Linked DNA regions of Homo sapiens: all the other regions are linked to region 3. The links are contacts of gene promoters, found by promoter capture Hi-C in human tissues and cell types (Jung and others, 2019). All regions are on one chromosome and are shown on one strand. Each heading gives the region's core, a stretch centred on a gene start or on the middle of the fragment in contact. The rest is flanking DNA. Distances are from core to core; before and after follow the strand shown.

Evidence for each region. Contacts are between HindIII fragments. The study calls those that stand out against the background at their distance.
Region 1: a fragment that was not itself captured here is called in contact with the fragment with the promoter of ZNF287 in region 3 in 1 of the 25 tissues and cell types used here (dorsolateral prefrontal cortex).
Region 2: a contact is called between a fragment that was not itself captured here and the fragment with the promoter of ZNF287 in region 3, in 2 of the 25 tissues and cell types used here (lymphoblastoid cells and mesenchymal stem cells).
Region 4: a contact is called between a fragment that was not itself captured here and the fragment with the promoter of ZNF287 in region 3, in 1 of the 25 tissues and cell types used here (mesenchymal stem cells).

Annotation. Positions count from the first base shown.
Region 1 is chr17:16,529,551-16,535,000 of GRCh38, forward strand. No RefSeq gene overlaps it. Among named protein-coding and RNA genes, the nearest start is that of ZNF287, 37 kb to the right of the region's middle. The HindIII fragment of the contact is 8,307 bases long and covers 1-5,450 here.
Region 2 is chr17:16,507,757-16,512,790 of GRCh38, forward strand. No RefSeq gene overlaps it. Among named protein-coding and RNA genes, the nearest start is that of LRRC75A, 18 kb to the left of the region's middle. The HindIII fragment of the contact is 7,643 bases long and covers 1-5,034 here.
Region 3 is chr17:16,566,808-16,572,214 of GRCh38, forward strand. It overlaps ZNF287 (zinc finger protein 287), which reads right to left and starts at 2,397. Exons shown (of 6, transcript NM_020653.4): 1 at 2,145-2,397; 2 at 522-1,122. The coding sequence starts at 924. RefSeq lists enhancers at 1,460-1,961, 1,962-2,461. The HindIII fragment of the contact is 5,740 bases long and covers 17-5,407 here.
Region 4 is chr17:16,624,397-16,629,938 of GRCh38, forward strand. ZNF624 (zinc finger protein 624) reads right to left here. Exons shown (of 6, transcript NM_020787.4): 6 at 1-113. Among named protein-coding and RNA genes, the nearest start is that of ZNF624, 27 kb to the right of the region's middle. The HindIII fragment of the contact is 4,157 bases long and covers 1,060-5,216 here.

The DNA of each region.
Region 1 (5,450 bases), core at 1,771-4,270, 37 kb before region 3:
ACAGGTGAAATTTCACATATTATTTGTATATACATGCACATATAAAAGTGTAAAGACATTTAAAAAGTGGTTACACGTACAGAAAAAGACAAGGGAATGAGATTCAGGCAGGAGAGGTTCATAGGGGATTTTAATTGTATCTATCATGTTTTAAAAACATTTTACATTTGATTAAGGATATTAGACATCATAAAATAAGCCAGCCTGCTATTTTTGGTATCTAATGAAAATCTCTTTCTTGGTCAGGCATTGTGGCTCACGCCTGTAATCCCAGCACTTTGGGAGGCCGAGGCGGGTGGATCACTTGAGGCCAGGAGTTTGAGACTAGCCTGGCCAACATGGCAAAAAGTGAAAATTGTATTTTTTCTCTTCTTGGGGACCTTCAGCTGTAACAGAAGAGAGAAGAGCTGACTTCTGGAATTAACCAAATGTGAGAGGTCCAGGTTTAGATGCATCTGGGAAGGTGGGGGGCTGCGCAGAGGGACACTGTGTTTAAATTTGTCTTGTTACATCTGGCTGACAGCCTGGCCAAAGCTACAACATTCCTGATCACACAGGTCCATTGTGACTGCATTACGGTCTCATTGCAATTTCCGCAGCCCTGAGGGCCGGCTGGAATTGCCACCAGGGAAGTTAGAGAAACTAGAAGGTGCTTTGTTCCTGGGGCTGGACTTTTCTACTGGAGTTAATATTCAGAAACTCTGGAAATGAGACTGAATCAAATTTCCAAATCCAAATCAAGTTAATTGTACTCCCTATTCTCTTTTACAAATTATCAGCAGCATGCATTAGAGCTGTCAAATCTTTACCCACTTGATGGAAAAGACCAACAAAGCTGCTCTTTTTGAACATTGCTGATTTTTATTTGCTTTTACTTTTTCTAGCCATAACAAGAGATTTTCTCAGAATGCCTTATACTTGGTAAAAAGATTTTTACAGACTTACAGATGTGCTTTTCTCTTAGATGAAGTGTGATTGGATAAACAGTGAACTACTCAATTTTATTTCAATTCTCCAGCATGAAGCCATTGAAAAATACAAAAATTGCATTTTTTAATTTTTTTGAGATGGAATCTCGCCCTGTCGCCCAGGCTGGAGTGGAGTGGCACGATCTCGGCTCACTGCAAGCTCCGCCTCCCAGGTTCACGCCATTCTCCTGCCTCAGCCTCCCAAGTAGCTGGGACTACAGGCACCCACCACCACGCTTGGCTAATTTTTTGTATTTTTAGTAGAGACGGGATTTCAGGATTTCACTGTGTTAACCAGGATGGTCTTGATCTCTTGACCTCATGATCCACCAGCCTTGGCCTCCCAAGGTGCTGGGATTACAGGCGTGAGCCACCGCGCCCAGCTGAAAATTTCATTTTAAACATTCCCTTAATTTTCTTACAAGTTTAAATATCTGAAACATGAAAAGCTGCAAATATCTACATTCATTGTACATCATAAATATTTTATTACTCCTTCGAGCTGCCATTTCTATGATGTACATAAGAGGAATCCCCGGAGCACAGAAAATGATGAGAAAGTTTAAGCCAAGTTCAACATGAAAATGATTGGCTTATTTTCCTTTAAACCTCATGGCACCCAAGACGCAGCTTCATGCGCACCTTGTTATTGTTGCTCACAAACCCACCGGTCACTCTGCTTCCCACTTATCTTCTAGAGACTTTTGTTCACAAACCCCAAGCCTTAGCTTCATGCTCCATGAAGTCAATGTCCACAGGATGATAGTTCCACTTGCCCTGCTGTTCTTTGAACCTCTTATCTCCACCCCCCGCCCCCCACCCACCCCCACACACACACACACACACACACACACACACTGGCATCCCCATGCCTCACCAGCACCAGCACCTCTACCTCTGGAACATTCACCCCAGACATCTCCTCTCACCACCACCAGTACGTCAGCTACTTGCTCGAGAACTCATAATATTCAAATCCTTTTACCCCTGGGAGAGCTCTGTCCTGAGTGCACATGTTCCTGTTGCCAGAAAAGAGGGTCCCGATCCAGACCCCAAGAGCAGGTTCTTGGATTTCACGTAGGAAAGAATTCAGAGTGAATCACAGAGCACGGTGAAAGAAGCAAGTTTATTGGAAACTACCCTGTTACAGAGTAGGGCATCCTCAGAAAGCAGGAGGAGGAATGCATCGTCCTTTGTTAGTGCTTCTACTTGTAAGAAACTTCAAGGAAGCCAGGCGCAGTGGCTCACACCTGTAATCCCAGCACTTTGGGAGACCAAGGCGGATCACCTGAGGTCAGGAGTTCGAGACCAGGCTGGGCAACATGGTGAAACTCCATTTCTACTAAAAATACAACAATATAGCCGGGTGTGGTGGCGTGAGCCTGTAGTCCCAGCTACTCCGGAGGCTGAGGCAGTTGAATCGCTTGAACCTGGGAGATGGAAGTTGCAGTGAGCCGAGATCATGCCACTGCACTCCAGCCTGGGCAACAGAGCAAGACTCTGTCTCAAAAATAAAAAGAAACTACAAGGAGCTATGACTAAACTTGGGACGTGCCTACGTACTCACTAAAGGTAGGGGCTATAGGCATTATCGATTTTACATGACCATTATAATCCTTCAACCTAAGCCTGTTCATTGGCATTATCTCCAAGTAAAGAGCGCTGCATTCCGGCCGGGCGCAGTGGCTCACGCCTGTAATCACAACGCTTTGGGAGGCCGAGGTGGGCGGATCATGAGGTCAGGAGATTGAAACATGGTGAAACCCTGTCTCTACTAAAAATACAAAAAATTAGCTGGGCGTGGTGGCATGAACCTGTAGTCCCAGCTACTGGGGAGGCTGAGGCAGGAGAATCGCTTGAATCCGGGAGGTGGAGGTTGCAGTGAGCTGAGATTGCGCCACTGCACTCCAGCCTGGGCGACAGAGCAAGACTCCATCTCAAAAAACAAACAAGCAAAAAGAGTGCTGCATTCTGAGGACATCTGGCAAGCTTGTCCAACCCATTTGATTTTGTTGTTGTGTTGTTCTGTTTTGTTTTATTTTGTTTTAGGCTTTTAGCAGCCTGAAGCCACGGTTTTTAGTTTCTGTCTCTAGTGATAAGCGGAAAAGAATGAGGAAGGGGCTTTACTGGCCCAACCAGAAACAGAAACTAAGAACCCATGACTGGGCTGGGAGAGGTGGCTCACGCCTATAATCCCAGTACTTTGGGAGGCCAAGGCGGGCAGATCATGAGGTCAGGAGATTGAGACCAGCCTGGCCAATATGGAAACCCATCTCTAATAAAAATACAAAAATTAGCTGTGTGTGGTGGCGGGCACCTGTAGTCTCAGTTACTCTGGAGGCTGAGGCAGAAGAATTGCTCAAACCCAGGAGGTGGAGGTTGCAGTGAGCCGAGATCGTGCCACTGCCCTCTAGCCTCGGCAATAGAGCAAGACCCTGTGCAAGACCCAGGCTGGAGTGCAGTGGTGTGATCATGGCTCACTGCAGCCTCAAACTCCTGGCTCAAGGGATTCTCCTGCCTCAGCCTTTCAAGTAGCTAGGACTACAAGTGTAGGCCTGCATACTCAGCTAATTTTTATTTTTCTATTTTTTTTTTGTAGATATGGGGTCTTGCTGTGTTACCCAGGCTGGTCATGAACTCCTGGCCTCAAGGGACCCTCCCACCTTGGCCTCCCAAAGTGCTGGGATTACAGATGTGAGCCACCATGCCTGCCCTAATCACATTCTTTAAACTGTGTATACTTTTACTGATTTTTTAAATCTGTTTATTTTACCAGTTACTGACAGAGGTATGTTATCATATTATGATTCAGGATTTACTTTTCCTTTCAATTCTGACAGTTTCTGCTTTATATATTTTGAGATTAAGTTATTGGGTACATTTTAAAGGTGCAGTTATGATTATCTAGTGGATTAATGCTTGTATCATATTATTCTTCATTTCTAGTAATGCTTCTTGCCTTAAAATGTATTTTGCATGATATTAATATAGCAACATTAACTTTCGATTAGGGTTTGTGTGGTATACCTTTTCTCCATGCTTTCACTTTCTACTTTTTGTGCCCTGAAATTTACAATGCATCTTTTATAAACAAAGTAAGTTTTAAAAAATTCAGTCTGACAGTCTTTGATCTTCTCTTATTTATCCATTTATGTTTAATATAATTACAAATGTGTTTGGGTTTAAGTCTACCTTCTTGCTATTTGTTTTCTATTTGTCCCACCTTATCTATGTTTCTTTCTCTCTCCTTATTTTCCACCTTTTGGAAATTCTCCAAATGTTTGTCATTAAAGGACTGCTTGGATACACTGTAGAACAACCAAACAATATAGTAATATGCAACTGTAAAAAGGAATGAGAAATATCTCTGTGATCCTTAGGATTTATTTTTATGTGGGAAAAACAAGATGGATGGATGCGTGAATAGTATGCTACAGTTTAAGAGAGAATGGAAGGGATAGAAATATATATGTACACATTTGTTTATGCTAAAAAGTGGAAGAATAAACCATAAAATTTAAAAGTGATTAGCTACAGGAGAGGGAGTGAACTGGGTAGAGGGCATAGGAATAGAAGTTGGGTTTCTCTAATGTACTTTGTTTTGTGGATTCTACTTTGATAGCATAAAAAACTTTTCCTAGTTTTAAAACCAAAATATATTAAAGAAAAAACAATCCATAAACCTTGAAAGTACAATGAAACAAAGGAACTTGTGTGTATTAGTTTCTTGTGGCCACTGTACAAAGCACCACAAACTTGGTGTCTTGGAACACTTTCTCAGTTTGGGAGGCAAGAAATCTGCAATCAGTTTCACTGGGCCAAAATCAAAATGTTGTCAGGGCCATGCTCCCTCCAAAGGCTCTAGGGTAAAATCCATTCCTTGCCTCTTCCGGTTTCTGATTACTGGCATTTCTTGGTTAATGACTGCATCACTCCAATATGTGCCTCTGTGGTCACATTATCATCTTCTCCCCTGTTAAATTTTCTTCTGCCTGTCTCTTATAAGGCATTTGTAATTTCATACAGAGCTCCCCAGGAAAAACAGGATAACCTCCCCATCTCAAGATCCCTAATTATGCACACCTAAAATCCATTCTGACATTATAAAGTAACATTCACAAGTTCTAAGGATTAGGACCTGGATATCTTTGGGGGCCATCATATGGTCTACTACACTGTGGAGTTGGTGTTATAACACCCAGAGAAAAATTATTCCAAGTTACTTTAAGTTTCATTGACTTGACTGTACATCTCTAGTAGGGTATACTCTAAGGACAAAAATAATTTTTAAAAAATCTTAAACTTTTCCATAATAATGGTGGTGGTACTATTATAATTGTTCTGAAATTTTTAAAAATGTGTGTATTGTTTGATAAAGTAAATGAGTAATTATATTGGCATAACTGATAATATTTGGGTTTCCAACATTGGAGAATAGAGATACAGATATAAGACTGATGAGGTTAAGTAAAAATCCTGTTG
Region 2 (5,034 bases), core at 1,368-3,867, 59 kb before region 3:
CATGCCCAGCAAATTTTTCATAGAGACAGAGACTCACTATGTTGCCCGGGGTGATCTCAAACTCTGGGGCTGAAGCAATCCTCCAACCTCAGTCTCCCAAAGTGCTGGGATTACAGGTGTGAGCTACCATGCCTGGCCTCAATAAACTCTTATTAGTGAATAAGCATTCTCCAGATCCTGTGTCAGGCACTGGGGCTCCCAAGAAGAATAAGACACTGTCCCTGTCCTCAGAGCTCATGGTTTCAGAGGGACAAGGCACACAGTTGAGCAATGTATGCAACAGAGTGCTCTAGAGTATTCTGGGTAATAAAAGCCTACAGGTGACTTGAGGAATATAGGGGAGGGAGTGGCTGGTTCTTCTGGCAGGCTACAGTGCGAGTCAGGAAGCCTTTCTGGAAAATGTAACATGTGACCTGATTTCTGAAGCCTGAACAAGTAGTCACCAAGCTTCGGGGGTTAGGGAGGGAGAAGTTTGAGCAATGCAGGGGCCTGACATGTCGTGGTGTGTTCATGGCTCTGCACTTGGTTCTTTGGGGCTCGAGGTGACAGAGGAAGCCTGGGCCAGCAGCGGATAGGGTAGAGAAGGAAGCAGAGGCCAGACTACAGAGAGTCAGTCTCTGGCTGGGTGAGGTGCTGGACACTCCCTGTAGGCCATGGGAATGGCCTATAGGACAGATTCTGAGCAGGAGGGTGACAGGATCGCCTTGAAGTTAGAACCATCACTCGGCAATGCAAGATTACTTATCCGATTTATTCATTCTTGCTTCCAGACTATGTAGAAACTGGCAAAAAGCCTAAAAGTCTAGTGTTTTCAGGCCTGTTTGGAGAGAATGATGGACATGGGTTTGTGAAATATCAAATGCTTGTTCTGACCCAAATTGCTCATAATCAGAAAGAGTACCTTTTCTTTTTTTTCTTTTTTTTGAGATAGGGTCTTACTCTGTTGCCCAGGCTGGAGTGCAGTGGCATGATCATAGCTCACTGCAGCCTTGAACTCCTGGATTCAAGGGATCCTCCCAACTCAGCCTACTGAGCATCTGGAACTACAGTGTATGCCAACACACTTGGCTAATTTTGTATTTTTTAGTAGAGAGAGAGTCTCGCTATTTTGCCCAGGCTGGTCTTGAACTCCTGGCCCCAAAGGATCCTCCCACCTTGGCCTCCCAATGTGTTAGGATTATAGGCCTGAGCCACTGCACTCAGCCAGAGGAGTATGAATACTTAGATATTTGCACACAAATCTCAGTCTGACATAAGTCTGCAACTCCAGCAGCAAAAAAAAGTCTCTATTCTCTTTTCTCAGCAGTGTTTCAAATTGAGCCTTATTGATTATGACCTTGTAGTTTATCTCTCGCAAGTAGCTTTCTAATAAAAAATACTTATGTAACTGTCTTTACTTAATGTTCAAGAGTCTAGCATATTCTCCGTGAATCAGGAGACTAATATTTTATGCTGGCAGTGACACAGAAACCCACAGTTCATTGTCTGAGACTACAGCTTGTCCCAAAGATCCCCATGGAACACGAAGTAATCCCCATCAGCTACAGCCAGAAAATCAGTTTCCTATGAAGTTAGAACAATACGGCTGGGTTTCCAGGAGGTAAAGCATCCTGAAGCTTTGCTGGATGGTATTATTTCTGGTTTTCGCCAGGCTGCAAAGAATTTTCACTTGTTATAATAGGGCAGTCCATTTCCTGCAAAGAAATATCTTTCCTAGGGGTCTGTCTACTCTATAGCTCACAATGTTCAGAAATAACAAGAACTTTACAAGTGTTTACAAACATCGTCTTGTGTTAGGCAAGTATCAAAAAATCTTGTCTCTCACAGACGTTTCAGAGAATCCACACAAATAACTCAGAAAGTCTGTTCATTGCAGAAAAGCTAGTATGAGTTTGCCTTTTTTTTTTTTTTTTTTGAGACAAGTTCTTGCTCTGTCACCCATGCTGGAGTGCAGTGGCGCAATCATGGCTCACTGCAGCCTCAAATTCCTGGGCTCAAGTGATTCCCCTTCTTCAGCCTCCTGAGTAGCTGAGACTATAGGGACATGCCACCATACCCAGCTAATTTTTTTTTTTTTGAGACAGAGTCTCACTCTGTCACCCAGGCTGGAGTGCAGTGGTGCGATCTCAGCTCACTACAACCTCCGCCTCCTGGGTTCAAGCAATTCTCCTGCCTCAGCCTCCGGAGCAGCTGGGACTACAGGCACGTGCCATCATGCCCAGCTAATTTTTGTATTTTTAGTGAAATGGGGTTTCATCATGTTGGCCAGGCTGGTCTCGAACTCCTGACCTGAGGTGGTCCACTCGCCTCGGCCTCCCAAAGTGCTGGCATTACAGGTGTGAGCCACCACACCCGGCGAATACCCAGCTAATTTAAAAAAATTTTTGTACAGACAGGGTCTCACCACGTTGCCCAGGCTGGTCTCGAACTCCTGCACTCAAGCCATCCTCCTGTCTTGGCTTCCCTAAGTGTTGGGATTACAGGTACAAGCCACTGCACCTGGCCTGTTCTGACTTTTGTGCGGCGTGAAGTGAAGAAACTTAACAGGGCATTTCCTTTCGTGCTGTTCTGGCTGTGATGAGCATTTGCAGAATCCCTGGGCATTATTCTCATGGCATTACTCTCTCACTAAAGAGTCTGAGGGCTCGAAGTCATTATCACTCAGTTCTCTCTGAAACTTCAAGTCAGCATCTCAGCTATTCTGTCAATGTTGTGAGCAAAAACTAGTAGCCACACTTTCCAAGTGACAGAGAGGAAGTGTGAGCATGCCACTTCATTACATTTCCTCTCCGGTTGACAGAAGATTCTGACCATTCCTCTTGTTGTCTAGAACAATGGCGGGTGATTTTGTGTCCAAAGGTCATGTGGCAATGTTTAGAGACATTTTCCATTGTCATGACTGGGGTTGAGGGAGCTACTGGCATCAGGTGGGTAGAGGCCAGGGATGTTGCTAAACATCCTACAATGCCCGGACGGCCTCCTCTCCGCGAAAAGAATTTTCCAGTCTAAAATACCAATGGTGTCAAGATTAAGAAATCCTGGTCTAGAACTAGAATCCAAATGCCCCAGTGCCAGCCATTTAGTTCTCTCAGAAAGCAGACTTTTCTGCCCACCCCAATCATGTTCCCCTTTTGTAGTGATGGAAGTTATAACAAGATGCAAGACCAGATTACATTTTCCAGCCTTCTTTGCAGTTTAGTGTGGCCATTTCAGTAGCTCCCACCAATGGAACAAGACCTAAAGTGATGTGTGCCACTCTGGCCAAGGCTTCTGAGAATTCCCTTTTCCCTTCTGCTGGCAAGATGTAGATGACAACTAGGCTGTATGGGAGAGCCATGATGGGAGCCTGGATCCCTGCATCGCCCTATGGCAGAGAGCTGCCCATCGGCTGAAAACACATGCTGCAGTCGCTTATGTGAGTGAGAAATAAACTCCTGTGTTTGAGCCAATTTACATCTTTAGGTCTACTTGTCACAGCAGCTTAGCTCACCCTAGCCAGTAAACAGCCAATCCCCAAGAGCCTATTTTGATGCTAGGAGCCTTAGGAAGCAGAGAGAGCTCTGAATGAGGCAAACATGGCAGGGATCTTTGCCCCTGAGGTTAGCTTGGGTCCCCTCTGCTAAATGGTAGGAGCAGCGCAAGTTCAAGCCTGCCATCAAGGGGCCCTTGCTTTGTTTAGTACAGCCTTGACTTCAGGAGTAGGTTGTGATATGATCCCCACTCTGTGTGATTTCAGCTACGTCATCACGATTAGACACTTAGGCTACTCCGATGGTCCATTTTATCTGTCAGCTCAACTGGGCCACTAGATGCCCAGATATCTGGTCAAACATTATTCTGCTGTGTCTGTGAAGGTGTTTCTGGACGAGGTCAGAATTTGAATCTGTAGACTGAGTGAGGCTGATTGTTCTCTCTAATGTGGGTGAGCTGCATCCCATCAGTTGAAGGCCTGGGTAGAACACAAAGGCTGAGTAATAGGAAACCCCTTCCTGCCTGACTGTGGGGACCAGGACATTGGTCTTTTTCTGTCTTTGGTCTCAAACAGAAACATCTGCTCTTCTTGGGTCTTGAGCCTGTGGCTTTCAGACTGGAATGTATACTCCTGGGTCTTCAACTTGCTGACTGCAGATCTTGGGAAGTTTCAGCCTCCATAATTGCACAGGCCAATTCCTTACAATAAATCTCTCTCTGTCTCTGTCTCTCTCTTTCTCTACACACACACACACACACACACACACACACACACACACACACACACGCATCCTGTTGGTTCTTTTCCTCTGGAGAACCCTAATACAGTTGCAAATTGCAGAAACTCACCTGAAAGCAGTTTAGGCAGAAAAGGGAAGAGGCTCAGAGAACCAAAGCACAGGAAGTGATGGGGTGCAGCTGGCCGCAGGGACAGCTGGACCAGCAGGGCGCATTTTCTCCACCTCTTATCCCCACTGCTCTGGGTGTGTTGGCTTCATTCTCTCTTTGTGCAGTTAAGCCTCTTCACACAGCAGGGAAAAAGCATCATGATCTCTAAGCTCATATCCTCACAGCTGCTGGGCCAAAGAGGAAGCGTCCTCCCTGTCTCTCACTTGAAAATTCTGGGAGGGACTTGGGTTGAGCATCCCTGCTGTGCCTGGAGCAGGCTGTATTATCAGGAGAAATAAGGAATGGGCATAAAAAATGGCTGTACATTGTTTCTTGCATGTACTCTGTGACATTGGGATATGGTCACTGTCCCCTTCCACTTCTGCTGGCTCATCTTTGCCTCCCATCCCTGCTACTTTGACCCAGGGAATCAAAGTGTAGCCTCAGGGAGCAAATTACAGAATTTTTTTCCAACAACCCCTCCCCCACCACTCCTACATTGGCAGTGGTGGCTGTCCAAAACGTGACAGGAGAAAATTCTAACTGTGCAAAATGTGATAGATCCTACAACATGATGATACATGAGATCTGTCATGTAACTCAAGCTGGAAAAATTTCAGCAAGATAAACTGACTGCCATACATCTTAACTAGTCCCTGTCCAGTTTCTATTGGC
Region 3 (5,407 bases), core at 1,147-3,646:
CAAAAACAAGCTCGCTCTAAAAATCTTAAAGAGTATGAACAAAATTCACATTTTAACTAAATCCTTATGTGATATTAATTTTGTGAGTTATCTCTTAATAAGGGAATGTTCTCTAGACCCTTTCTTCCTTTTTTGGAAGTATTTTATTGTAAAATTCAATTCACAAAGCAAATGATTTATTAGTAGAATGGTGCAAACCTCTGAAGGTACTTTCTGAGGGCTCACACAGTGGTAATTTGGTTGCGTCTGGTCATTATTTCAAGACGTTTTTCTTGGGGGTTTAGATAATGTGTGTTTGCTCCCAAGCAATCTGGAAGGAGAACACCATGCAGGATGGAGCTCATGTTAAAGCCTTGTTCTCACTCACTAACCTTTGTTCTCCCCAGTTTCTTTCTTTTTAAAAAATGCATCCTGGACCTCTCAGTGCTCTCCCTGATTTCTTTAAAGGAGCTGCTCAGATGTGCTAGTTGTCTTCTTTAACCACCCAGGGATTCCTCCCCTCTCTGCTCTATGATTCTCACCTTCCTCTTCTAGAATCTGAGTCAAATCCTCCACCAGAGTCACTGCTTCCTCGCTGCTCTCTGGATACTGGGACTTTACCCAAGTCCTAACCTCACCAGGCAGGATGGTCAGGAATTGCTCCAGCACCAGCAGCTCCAAAATTTGTTCCTTTGAGTGAATCTCAGGTCTCAGCCACTTAAGGCAGAGCTCTCGGAGTTGACTCAATGCCTTTCGAGGACCAGCCAGGTCTGGGTATGGAAAATTCCTAAAATTCTGTCGACAGGTCTCAGTGTCACGCAAGAATCTTGAAGTAAGGATTTCCTTCTCAACATTGTAGGGTCCACTCTGAGCCTTGTCTGACTTCCACCTTAGAAGGATTTGAGAACGTGAAGAACTGTTCATCCTCTTGCTTGAGGCTAACATTGCTACAGACAGGAGAGTCAATCTGGCAATATCCTTTATTTCTCCAGTAGTGAGCCAACTGCTTGAAGTCTCATGCTAGAGTCACAAGGACACTATATCAAAGGCTGCTGCAGCCGAGGGCAGAACAGAATCAAGGTAGAGTTAGCAGCCTTAGTGACAAATTCTGAGCCCAGAACTTGCAGGGATGGATAAGAGACCCTGAAACACAAGCATGGACCACAAGGTCAAGAATCCCTGGTGTACTCTACTATACATATACACACACAGAAACAGACTCGCAGTGTGCATAGATGAACACACATAAGCTTTACCTTGTCTTCCTCCCCTATATCCTTAGACTTGTAAGGGAACTGCCATCTGCTTGGGGTTGGTGGGGGATGGAGCTGCTATTAAAAAGGTAGTGTCAGAGGCAATGACTCGAATCTAAGCCAAACAACAGATTAAACCTCTAACCTGTTGTAACAAAAATTAAACATTTTTATAGAGAAAATAGTTTCATTATTTTAGTCACTGATGTTACAGAAGCTGTAATGACTGAACGGACTCTCAACAATAACAAAGTGAATCTGTTACTTGGAAGAAACTAGGAGAATTTCTTCTTAATACAGTGCTCAAGGTTCCCAAGGGAACTGTCAGGGGAAAGGGCGAGCCATTTATCTGCGTTGCATGTTAATGCCAGCCGATTCTAGCCTTTCACTATCAGAGGGTTGGGAAGACCAGCGGGTTGGACTGGAAAAGAGTGAAGAGGTTGGTGTGACTTCAAGTCCTTTAAGTGCTTCTATAGGAGACAGTTCTTTAGGGATATATTCGAAACCAGGATTCTCGAAGGAAACCTTAGAACCGGCCTGATCTGGAGGAGAACCGACACCACCTCTCCCCAGGCTCCAGCTCCGAGCCCTGCTGAGGCACAGTCGTGCCACCAAAGACAACTGTTTACAAGGCCCTGCGGAGGTGATGCGACAGCCTTGCCTTGCCTCCTGTCGCCTCCCCTTCCCGGCCAAGTCCCTCTGCCTCTTACTCCTCTTCAGCCGCAGGGTCGAGGTCGAGGGCAGCGGGGGAGTCGGGGACCGTGCGACGCGCAACGCTGGGACTGGGCCCACAGCAGCCTCCACCCCGTCTTTGCCCTCCCGCAAGCCACGAGCACGGGAGCCCGCGCGTGGACGGGCTCGGGCTGTCACTGATCGCGCGGACACTCGCGCGCTGCGCCCGGACATCAATACCTGTCGCTGGGACCCGGCCGACGGGCAGCCGGAGCGGCCCTAAGGCCACAGGCAACAATGGCGACGCTGGCACAGGCGCCTGCGTGGCGGGCTCAGTCCCGAGCGGCAGCGGATCCTCGGGCTCCGCCACTTCCCTTCCCCGCAAAGCACAGAGTGTCCCGGCCAGGAGCTGCACGTTCCAGCCCGGTCCTGAGAAGCCCGGCCCAGAAACCCCGGCGCCTCTGCTTAGCCGCGACCTCGCCTCGGCGTCACTGCGCATGTGCGCCAGAGGAACGCTGCGCGCCCGCAGAGCCAATCGGAGCCCAAGCTGCCGCCTCCCCCTCCCGCGCCTCTGGCCCTGGACCTGTCTCCATGGCAACCTCCTCCACCCATCGCTCTGACTTGCTTGTCAGCCTGCGAGGTTCCGAAGGGAACTTCAAAGTTTCCCCGGGCAGACGCAGGTCTGGTAGACGTCTTGGAGGCCAGGGAGGTGCCAGTAGCTGGAGGAGCGCCGGGAGTTGAAGCCCCGCGCCAACTACGCAGAGAAAACTGGGCGCCAGATTTCCTAGAGGAAGAATGGGCAGGGAAGATGTGGGTCTAAAGGCAGAAAGACTTAATGTGCGGTTTCGGGCTTTACTGTGCATACATACTAACTGTGAAAGGTTTTCACTTCCTCCTCAGGAATTTGATTCTGAGACTCTCAGATTGGGGGAAAAAAACCCATGTTCTTTCTTTCTTTCTTTTTTTTCTTTTGAGACGGAGTCTCGCTCTGTCGCCCAGGCTGGAGTGCAATGGTGCGAGCTCGGCTCACTGCAACCTCCGCCTCCTGGGTTCAAGTGATTCTCCTGTGTTCAAGTGATTCTCACTTGAACTTCCTGGGTTCAGCCTCCCGAGTAGCTGTTATTTCTAAGAGACACAAAACAAAAATACATAAAACACTGGAAAAATAAAAGCATAGAAAAACATATTCAAGGTGTTCCCGTTATCTACTGTTCTATTAACAAACCACCCCAAAACTTAGTGGTTTTGAAGGACAATCACCGTATTATGCTCATAAATTTCATGGTGAGGAATTTGAAAGGGGAACTGAGTGGGTGGGCCTTTGCCTCATTATGTCTGTAGCCTCTGTTGGGATGATTTGATGGCTGGGAGGGCCCGCTTCCAAGATGGCTTTTCCACTCACATGTCTACTGCTTGGGAGGAGATGGGCTAAAAGATGAACTCGGCTTGTGTTTGACCAGAGTGCCTCAATGTGGTCTCTCCAGCATAAAGGACTGAGGGCAGCTGGACTTGTTACATGGTGGCTCTGGGCTCCAAGAGTGAGCATTCCAGTGAACAAGAGAGAAGCGCCATGGCCAATTATAACATGGCCTTGGAAGTCACCTAACACCAATTCTGTCAGACTCTTGGTCAAAGCAATCACAAGCCTACAGAGAATCAAATGGAGGCAGAATCCTGTGAGGGTGGAGGAGGACTGTCAAAGACTCTTAATATCACCACACCAGGAAAATTTTAACAAAAAGAAAGTTGGACCGGGCGCGGTGGCTCACGCCTGTAATTCCAGCACTTTGGGAGGCCCAGGCAGGTAGATCACCTGAGGTCAGGAGTTTGAGACCAGCCTGGCCAACATGGTGAAACTCCGTCTCTACTAAAAGAACAAAAATTAGCCTGGTGTGGTGGCGCACGCCTGTAATCCCAGCTACTCAAGAGGCTGAGGCAGGAGAATCACTTGAACCTGGGAAGCGGAGGTTGCAATGAGCTGAGATTTTGCCACTGCACTCCATGTACTCCAGCCTGGGCGACACGAGCAAGACTCCATCTCAAAAAAAAAAAAAAACAAACTTGGGGAGTGTGATGGTCTTTTGATGTGTCAACTTGGCTAGGCTACAGTCTCTTGCTATTTAAGTAAACACGAATCTAGGTGTTGCTGTAAAGGCATTTTGTAGATGAGATTGAAGCCCATAAACCCAGTTGGACTAAGTAGCATGGGAGATTATCCTAGATAATTTGGGTGGGCCTGATTCAATCAGTTAAAAGCTTTCAAAAAAGAACCGAAGTTTCCCTGATGGAGAAGAAACTCCATCAGCGTACCACAGCTTCCAGCCTGCCCTTCCTGATGGGGTGCTCTTATGGACTTTGGACTCACCTGGTCACCCCCTCAATCGAGTAAGCCAACTCTTTGCCACAAGTATCTTAAATATCTACTGGTTCCGCTTTTTTGATTGAACCCTGACTGATACAAGTAATAATTCTAATATCTGATAAGCTAGAATTTGAGAAGATTAAAAGGGAATAAATAAGAGTGCTTGATGGAAAAGATATATTTATCATAAATATACAGCATGTCCCTAACACTAAGGCCTCAAAACATACAAAGCAATAGCTGACATACCTGTAGGGAGGAAAACATAAACCAACAACCAAAGCTGGAAACTTAATACGCCCTATAGTGCACACTGTGGTGCTGCCAGGATCCTCCTTCAGGGTTGAGGCATCCATCCCAGCAGCTGCCGGGTGAGTGGCTGCTGATGGCTCACAGCAAAATACTTCCTTGGGAGTTGTCCTAACTGCAGGGGGCTGCCTCTCACAAGTCACGTCTTCTCCCCGGGGGAAGTCCATATCCAAAGACTGCTCAGTGCAGGCCTCAAAGACCTGGCCCCCTGTCTTCAACTTGCAGCCTCTATAAAGGGCCATCTTGGCTTAAGAGTTCCCTGTGAGACCAACTGAGGCCTCTGTTGCAGTCATACAGCATTTAAACCTATTACTCTGTCCAGTTATCCTTATATCACTCCTGTACAGGCATTTTTTCTAGAGAACACTACCCAGTAATTACCTTGTATGCAATTCTCCATCTCAGAATCTATTTATAGGGAATCTGCCCTACACCAGTTGGTACCAGCAGTTGTTCCAAGAACGCAAACTCTAAAATGGAATTTTTTTCTTTTTGAGGTGGGGTCTTGCTCTGTCGCACAGGCTGGAGTGTAGTGGTGCAATCTCAGCTTACTGAAACCTTTGCCTCCCGGGTTCAGGCAATTCTCTCTGCCTCAGCCTCCTGAGTAGCTGGGATTACAGGCACCCACCACCACACCCGGCTAATTTTTGTATTTTTTAGTAGACACTGGGTTTCGCCATGTTGTCCAGGCTGGTCTTGAACTCCTGACCTCAGGTGATCTGCCTGCCTTGGCCTCCCAAAGTGCTGGGATTACAGGCATTAGCCATAAAATGGAATTTTGAAACTGTGTTACCTGCCACCTAGCTGACAATGAGGGAGGGCCCTATGACTT
Region 4 (5,542 bases), core at 1,888-4,387, 58 kb after region 3:
GGAATCCCACAGACCATTCTCTGTAAGTTTCTCTAGTATGGCCTCCTGTGATAAATCTTCAGAAATAGCCTTTGTTCGTGTAGCCTTCTTGGTTGCAGGTTTGGGCTCCATGTCTGGGGCAAAAAAGAGAAAAATCAAGTAATTCCTTTCCTAAGCTGGGGCAATCTCACTAAACAGAATAATAAAAGCAATAAATACATGGATAATGAATATATGGTTTTAATTGCTTTCACACTGACTTGTTTTTTAGTGAGAAGAAGGTAGGGTTAAGGGAGGCTGGTTTAGCAAAAACTAAAGTAGCAAATTCAATGAAACTTTCCCGTTAAAAAAGTCCATTCAGCTGGGCACAGTGGCTCATGCCTATAATCTCAGCACTTTGGGAGGCCAAGGTGAGAGAATTGCTTGAGCTTAGGAGTTCGAGACCAGTCTGGGCAATATAGCAAAACCCTGTCTCTACAAAAAAAAAAAAAAAAAAAAAAAAAAAAAAAAAATTAGCCAGGCATGGTGGTGTGCACCTGTAGTCCCAGTTATTTGTGAGGCTGAGGTGGGAGGACTGCTTGATTCTAGGAGGTGGAGGTTGCAGTGAGCCAAGATTGTGCCACTGCATTCTACCCTGGGTGACAGAGCACGACTGTCTCAAAAAAAAAAAAAAAGCCCATTCATAGTTTAGAGCCAACTATTTTAGATGGTATTCTTCAACTTTTGACAATCTCAAAAACTGTCATACTTCCTTGCTTTCTATTTACTCCACAAACCAGACTTTAGTCCCCAATCACACTTTCTATTTGTTTTGTTTTGTTTTGGAGACAGATACTTGCTGTGCCACCCAGGCTAGAGTGCAGTGGCATGATCTCGGCTCACTGCAACCTCCACCTCCTGGGTTCAAGCAATTCTCTTGTCTCAGCCTTCCGAGTAGCCGGGACTACAGTCATGTGCCACCACGCCCGGCTCATTTTTGTATTTTTAGTAGAGACGGGGTTTCGCCATGTTGGCCAGGCTGGTCTTGAACTTCTGACCTCAGGTGATCCACCCACCTCAGCCTCCCAAAGTGCTGGGATTACAGGCCTGAGCCACCATGCCATGCCTGGCCTCTATTTGTTCTCATTTTTGATTGACTAGCTTTGTTGTGAGGGCTTTCTCAAATTCACTGGCAGAGTAGTTTATTCAAGTCTTTGTACATACCTTTTAATAAAACTTTTATGGAAAAAAAACTTTGATTTTCAAAAAGAACTGAACAACAAACTAGTCAAAAGTTAATATTTATACTTACTGATATTTCAAATAGTGGTAATTATTGTTTAATTAAGGGTAGATTTTGCAACTTTTTTATGGCCCTAAGAACATTTCTGACAGTTTGTCAAAAATTCATTAAAAAAATTACACTGTGGGATACTGGTCTTACAATGTGTTTGTGTATGCAATTTAATATTTTATTTTTAAGACACTTTAATGCCTTTTAAAACTTGTAATTCATTTTCAGGTAATTATGCCTCAATATTTAAATATAAGTTCAATAAAAACTCTTGTCCATGATAGAATGGTTTTATGATTTTTTTTTTTTTTTAATTTTTGAGGCAGTGTCTCGCTCTGTTGCTCAGGCTGGAGTACAGTGGCACAATCTCAGCTCACTGCAACCTCCACCTCCTGGGTTCAAGTGATTCTTGTGCTTCAGCTTCCGAAGTAGTTGGGATTACAGGCATGCGCCACCACATCCAGCTAATTTTTCTTATTTTTAGTAGAGAAAGCATTTTGCTATGTTGGCCAGGCTGGTCTCCATCTCCTGGCCTCAAGTGATCCACCCTCCTCGGCCTTCCAAAGTGCTGGGGTTTCAGGCGTGAGCCACTGTGCCCAGCCAATTTTATGATTTTAAAACCCACTTTTAAGCAGTATGATTTGTCTATGTTATTTTACTTTTATAAAATTTAAATTAATATTTTGTCATGCTGTTGCTATTTATCATTCTTTTACTTTTAAATAGTTTTAATTAGTTTGAGCATATTTTTTGCTGTCATAGGATATTATATTGCCAGTATCTGATAAAAAAAAAAGTTTGCTCTCAGAAAAAAAGCTATAAGGCTGGGTGTGGTGGCTCATGCCTATAATCCCAGCACTTTGGGAGGATGAGACAGGAAGACTGCTTGAGCCCAGGAGTTTAAGACCAGCTTGGGCAACACAGTGAGACCCCATCTCTATAAAAAATTAAAAATGAGCTGGGCATAGTGGCACACACTTGTAGTACTAAATACTTGGAAGGCTGAAGCTGGAGGATCCCCTGAGCCCAGGAAGTTGAGGCTGCAGTGAGCTATGATTGCATCACTGCACTACAGCCTGGGTGACAAAGTGAAACCCTGTCTCAAATAAATAAATAAATAAATGAAGGCCGGGCACAGTGGCTCACGCCTGTAATCCTAGCAGTCTGGGAGGCCAAGGTGGGCGGATTACCTGACATCAGCAGTTCTAGACCAGCCTGGCCAACATGGTGAAACCCCGTCTCAACTAAACACAAAAATTAGCTGGGTGTGGTGGCACACGCTTATAATCCCAGCTACTCGGGAGGCTGAGGCAGAAGAATTGCTTGAACCCAGGAGGCGGAGGTTGCAGTGAGCCGAGATCACGCCACTGCACTCAGCCTGGGAGACAAGAGAGACTCCATCTCAAATAAATAAATAAATAAAAAAGAAGAAGAAAAGCTATATAAAACATATCTATAGCACCAATTTGGAATTCAGAAACTAATATTAAATTTAAAAGGTCAAAAGAATATGAAGTTGGAAAGCAGAAAAATTTGCTGCAAAATGCACTAAAATTATAAAAGCTTAGAGTACATAAAGGTTGTTGTTATATTAGTAATTAGAAATTTTCTTCAATAAATTTATTTGTAGAAACTTAATTTATATGCACTAAATTCTCATCTTTCTTGAGTGAAAGTAAAATGTTACTCCCAGACAACAAGCATAAAAAACAGAATAAAAACTTTTATATTTGAGAGGTCTGCACTTTGGGGATGTCAGAGGAAGTCATTTGGACCAACTTTATTGCTGAGAACAATTTGAAATGTTGGACAAAAGAACAGTCTGTTTGAAAGCATCTGAAAGCTAGAAAGACTTAACAAATTACAAGGAGAAGAATGAAACCCAGAAAAACAATCCTGGTATTTGGTGCCATTTTCCCCTTCAAATGCCTGTTAATTCTCTAAGAAATGACTGAGAGGCTGAATAAGTAAGCAGAACTCTTAATAAAGTCATAGGGCAAGAAAGACAGAGACGGATTTAGGTCCATTAAGGAGGACAATTCTGGAACAACTAGGGTTTGGCTGGAACCTTAAGGTGATAAGCCCTACAAATAGAACGACTAAGAAATAGATCGGCTGGCTGAAGGACTAAAACCCACCTCATTTAAATTTCTCATTGAATTAAAGTGAATGAAGATTGTTATAGTCCCTAGCCTAGCAGTCTGGCAAAAGCAAACATTAATCCTCTGTGGGAAAGATTACATAATCTAGAACCTCCTAATATTACTATAGATTTTCATAGTCAATGCCTGATACCCAGTAAAAAATAACAGGCATAAAAGGAGACCACGCTGGGCATAGTGGCTCACATCTTGTAATCCCAGCACTTTGAAAGGCCAACAAGGGCAGATCACCTGAGGCCAGGAGTTCGAGACCAGACTGGGCAACATGGCAAAACCCCATCTCTACTAAAAAATACAAAAAAATTGGCCAGGCATGGTGGTGCATGCCTGTAGTCCCAGCTACTCAGGAGGCTGAAGCAGGAGAATCACTTGAACTTGGGAGGTGGAGGTTGCAGTGAACTGAGATTGCGCCACTGCACTCCAGCCTGGGTAAAAGAGCGAGACTCTGTCTGCCTCCCCCGACCCCAAAAAAAAGGGAGACAAAAATCAAAAGTCACATGGGAAAAAAATCAAGAGAGAAAACAAATATACAGAAACAGATCTAAAATGAATCCAAATAATTGAGGCCTCAGACATAAACTTTAAAATAACTAGGATAACTATATTCAAGAACATAAGATTAACAATCTCACAAAGATTTGTAAAGTATAAAATAACCAAATGAAAATTCTAGAACTGAAAAATAAATATAGTAACTTAACTCAAACTATGGGCTAAGAGCACAATAGAGACAGCACATGAGAGAGTTAGGGAAATGGAAGATAGGTCAGTACAAAGTATCCATACTGAAACACAAAATGATGAAAAACTTGCAAACGTTAGAAAAGCAGAAGAGACATCCAGGATAGGGTGAAAAGGTCTATCACAGATGTAACCAGAGTCCTAGAAGGTTACAAAGAGAAGTGAGAGAGAATGGACAGAAGCTAAGTCAAAGAAATAATGTCTTAGAATTTTCCACAAGAGATAAAAAAAAAAAATCAAGTCACAAGTCTTAGAAGCCAAATGAATCTTCAGCATGAGAAATATGAAGAAAACTATATTAAAGTACACAGTAGTAAAACCGTTGAAAACTAAACTCTTAAAAGCAGCCAAAAAAAGAGAGACAGGGAAGGGCACAGTGGCTCACACCTGTAATCCCAGCACTTTGGGAAGCCAAGATGGGCAGATCCCCTGAGGTCAGAGTTCGAGACCAGCCTGGCCAATGTGGCGAGACCCCATCTCTACTAAAAATACAAAAATTAGCTGAGCGTGGTGGCAGGTGCCTGTAGTCGCAGCTACTCAGGAGGCTGAGGCAGGAGAATTACCTGAAACCAGGAGGCAGAGGTTGCAGTGAGCCGAGATCACGTCACTGCACTCCAGCCTGGGCGACAGAGCGAGACTCCATCTCAAAAAAAAAAAAAAAAAAAAAAAAATCTGTCTCTCTCTCTTTTTTTTTTTAAACAGTGTCTTGCTCTGTCACCCAGGCTGGAGTGCAGTGGATTGGATTACAAGTCTGTGCCACAACGCCCGGCTAATTTTTGTATTTTTAGTAGAGATGGGGTTTTGCCATGTTTCCCATGCTGGTCTTGAACGCCTGACCCCAAATGATCCACCCACCTCAGCCTCCCAACACCTGGCCAAAGACAGATAGATGTCCTTTAATGAGCAACAATTAGATCAGAGGTTACAAATTATAACCAATTTGGCCCATCATCTGTTTCTGTATAGCCAGCAAGATAAGAATGATTTTTATATTTATTTTTATTTATTTATTTACTTACTTACTTACTTATTTTGAGACCGAGTCTCACTCTGTTACCCAGGCTGGAGTGCAGTGGGCAATCTCAGCTCATTGCAACCTCCGCCTCCTGGGTTCAAGTGATTCTTGTGCCTCTGCCTTCCGAGTAGCTGGGATTACAGGCCAGTGCCACCATGCCTAGCTAAAATTTGTATTTTTAGTAGAGACGGGGTTTCACCATGTTGCCCAGGCTGGTCTCAAACTCCTGGCCTCCAGTGCCTGCCTTGGCCTACCAAAGTGCTGGGATTACAAGCATGAGTCACCACGCCTGGCCAATTTTTACATTTAAAATGGTTGAAAAATATATTAAAAGAATGTGAGACATTAAAAATGTATGAAATTCAAATTTCA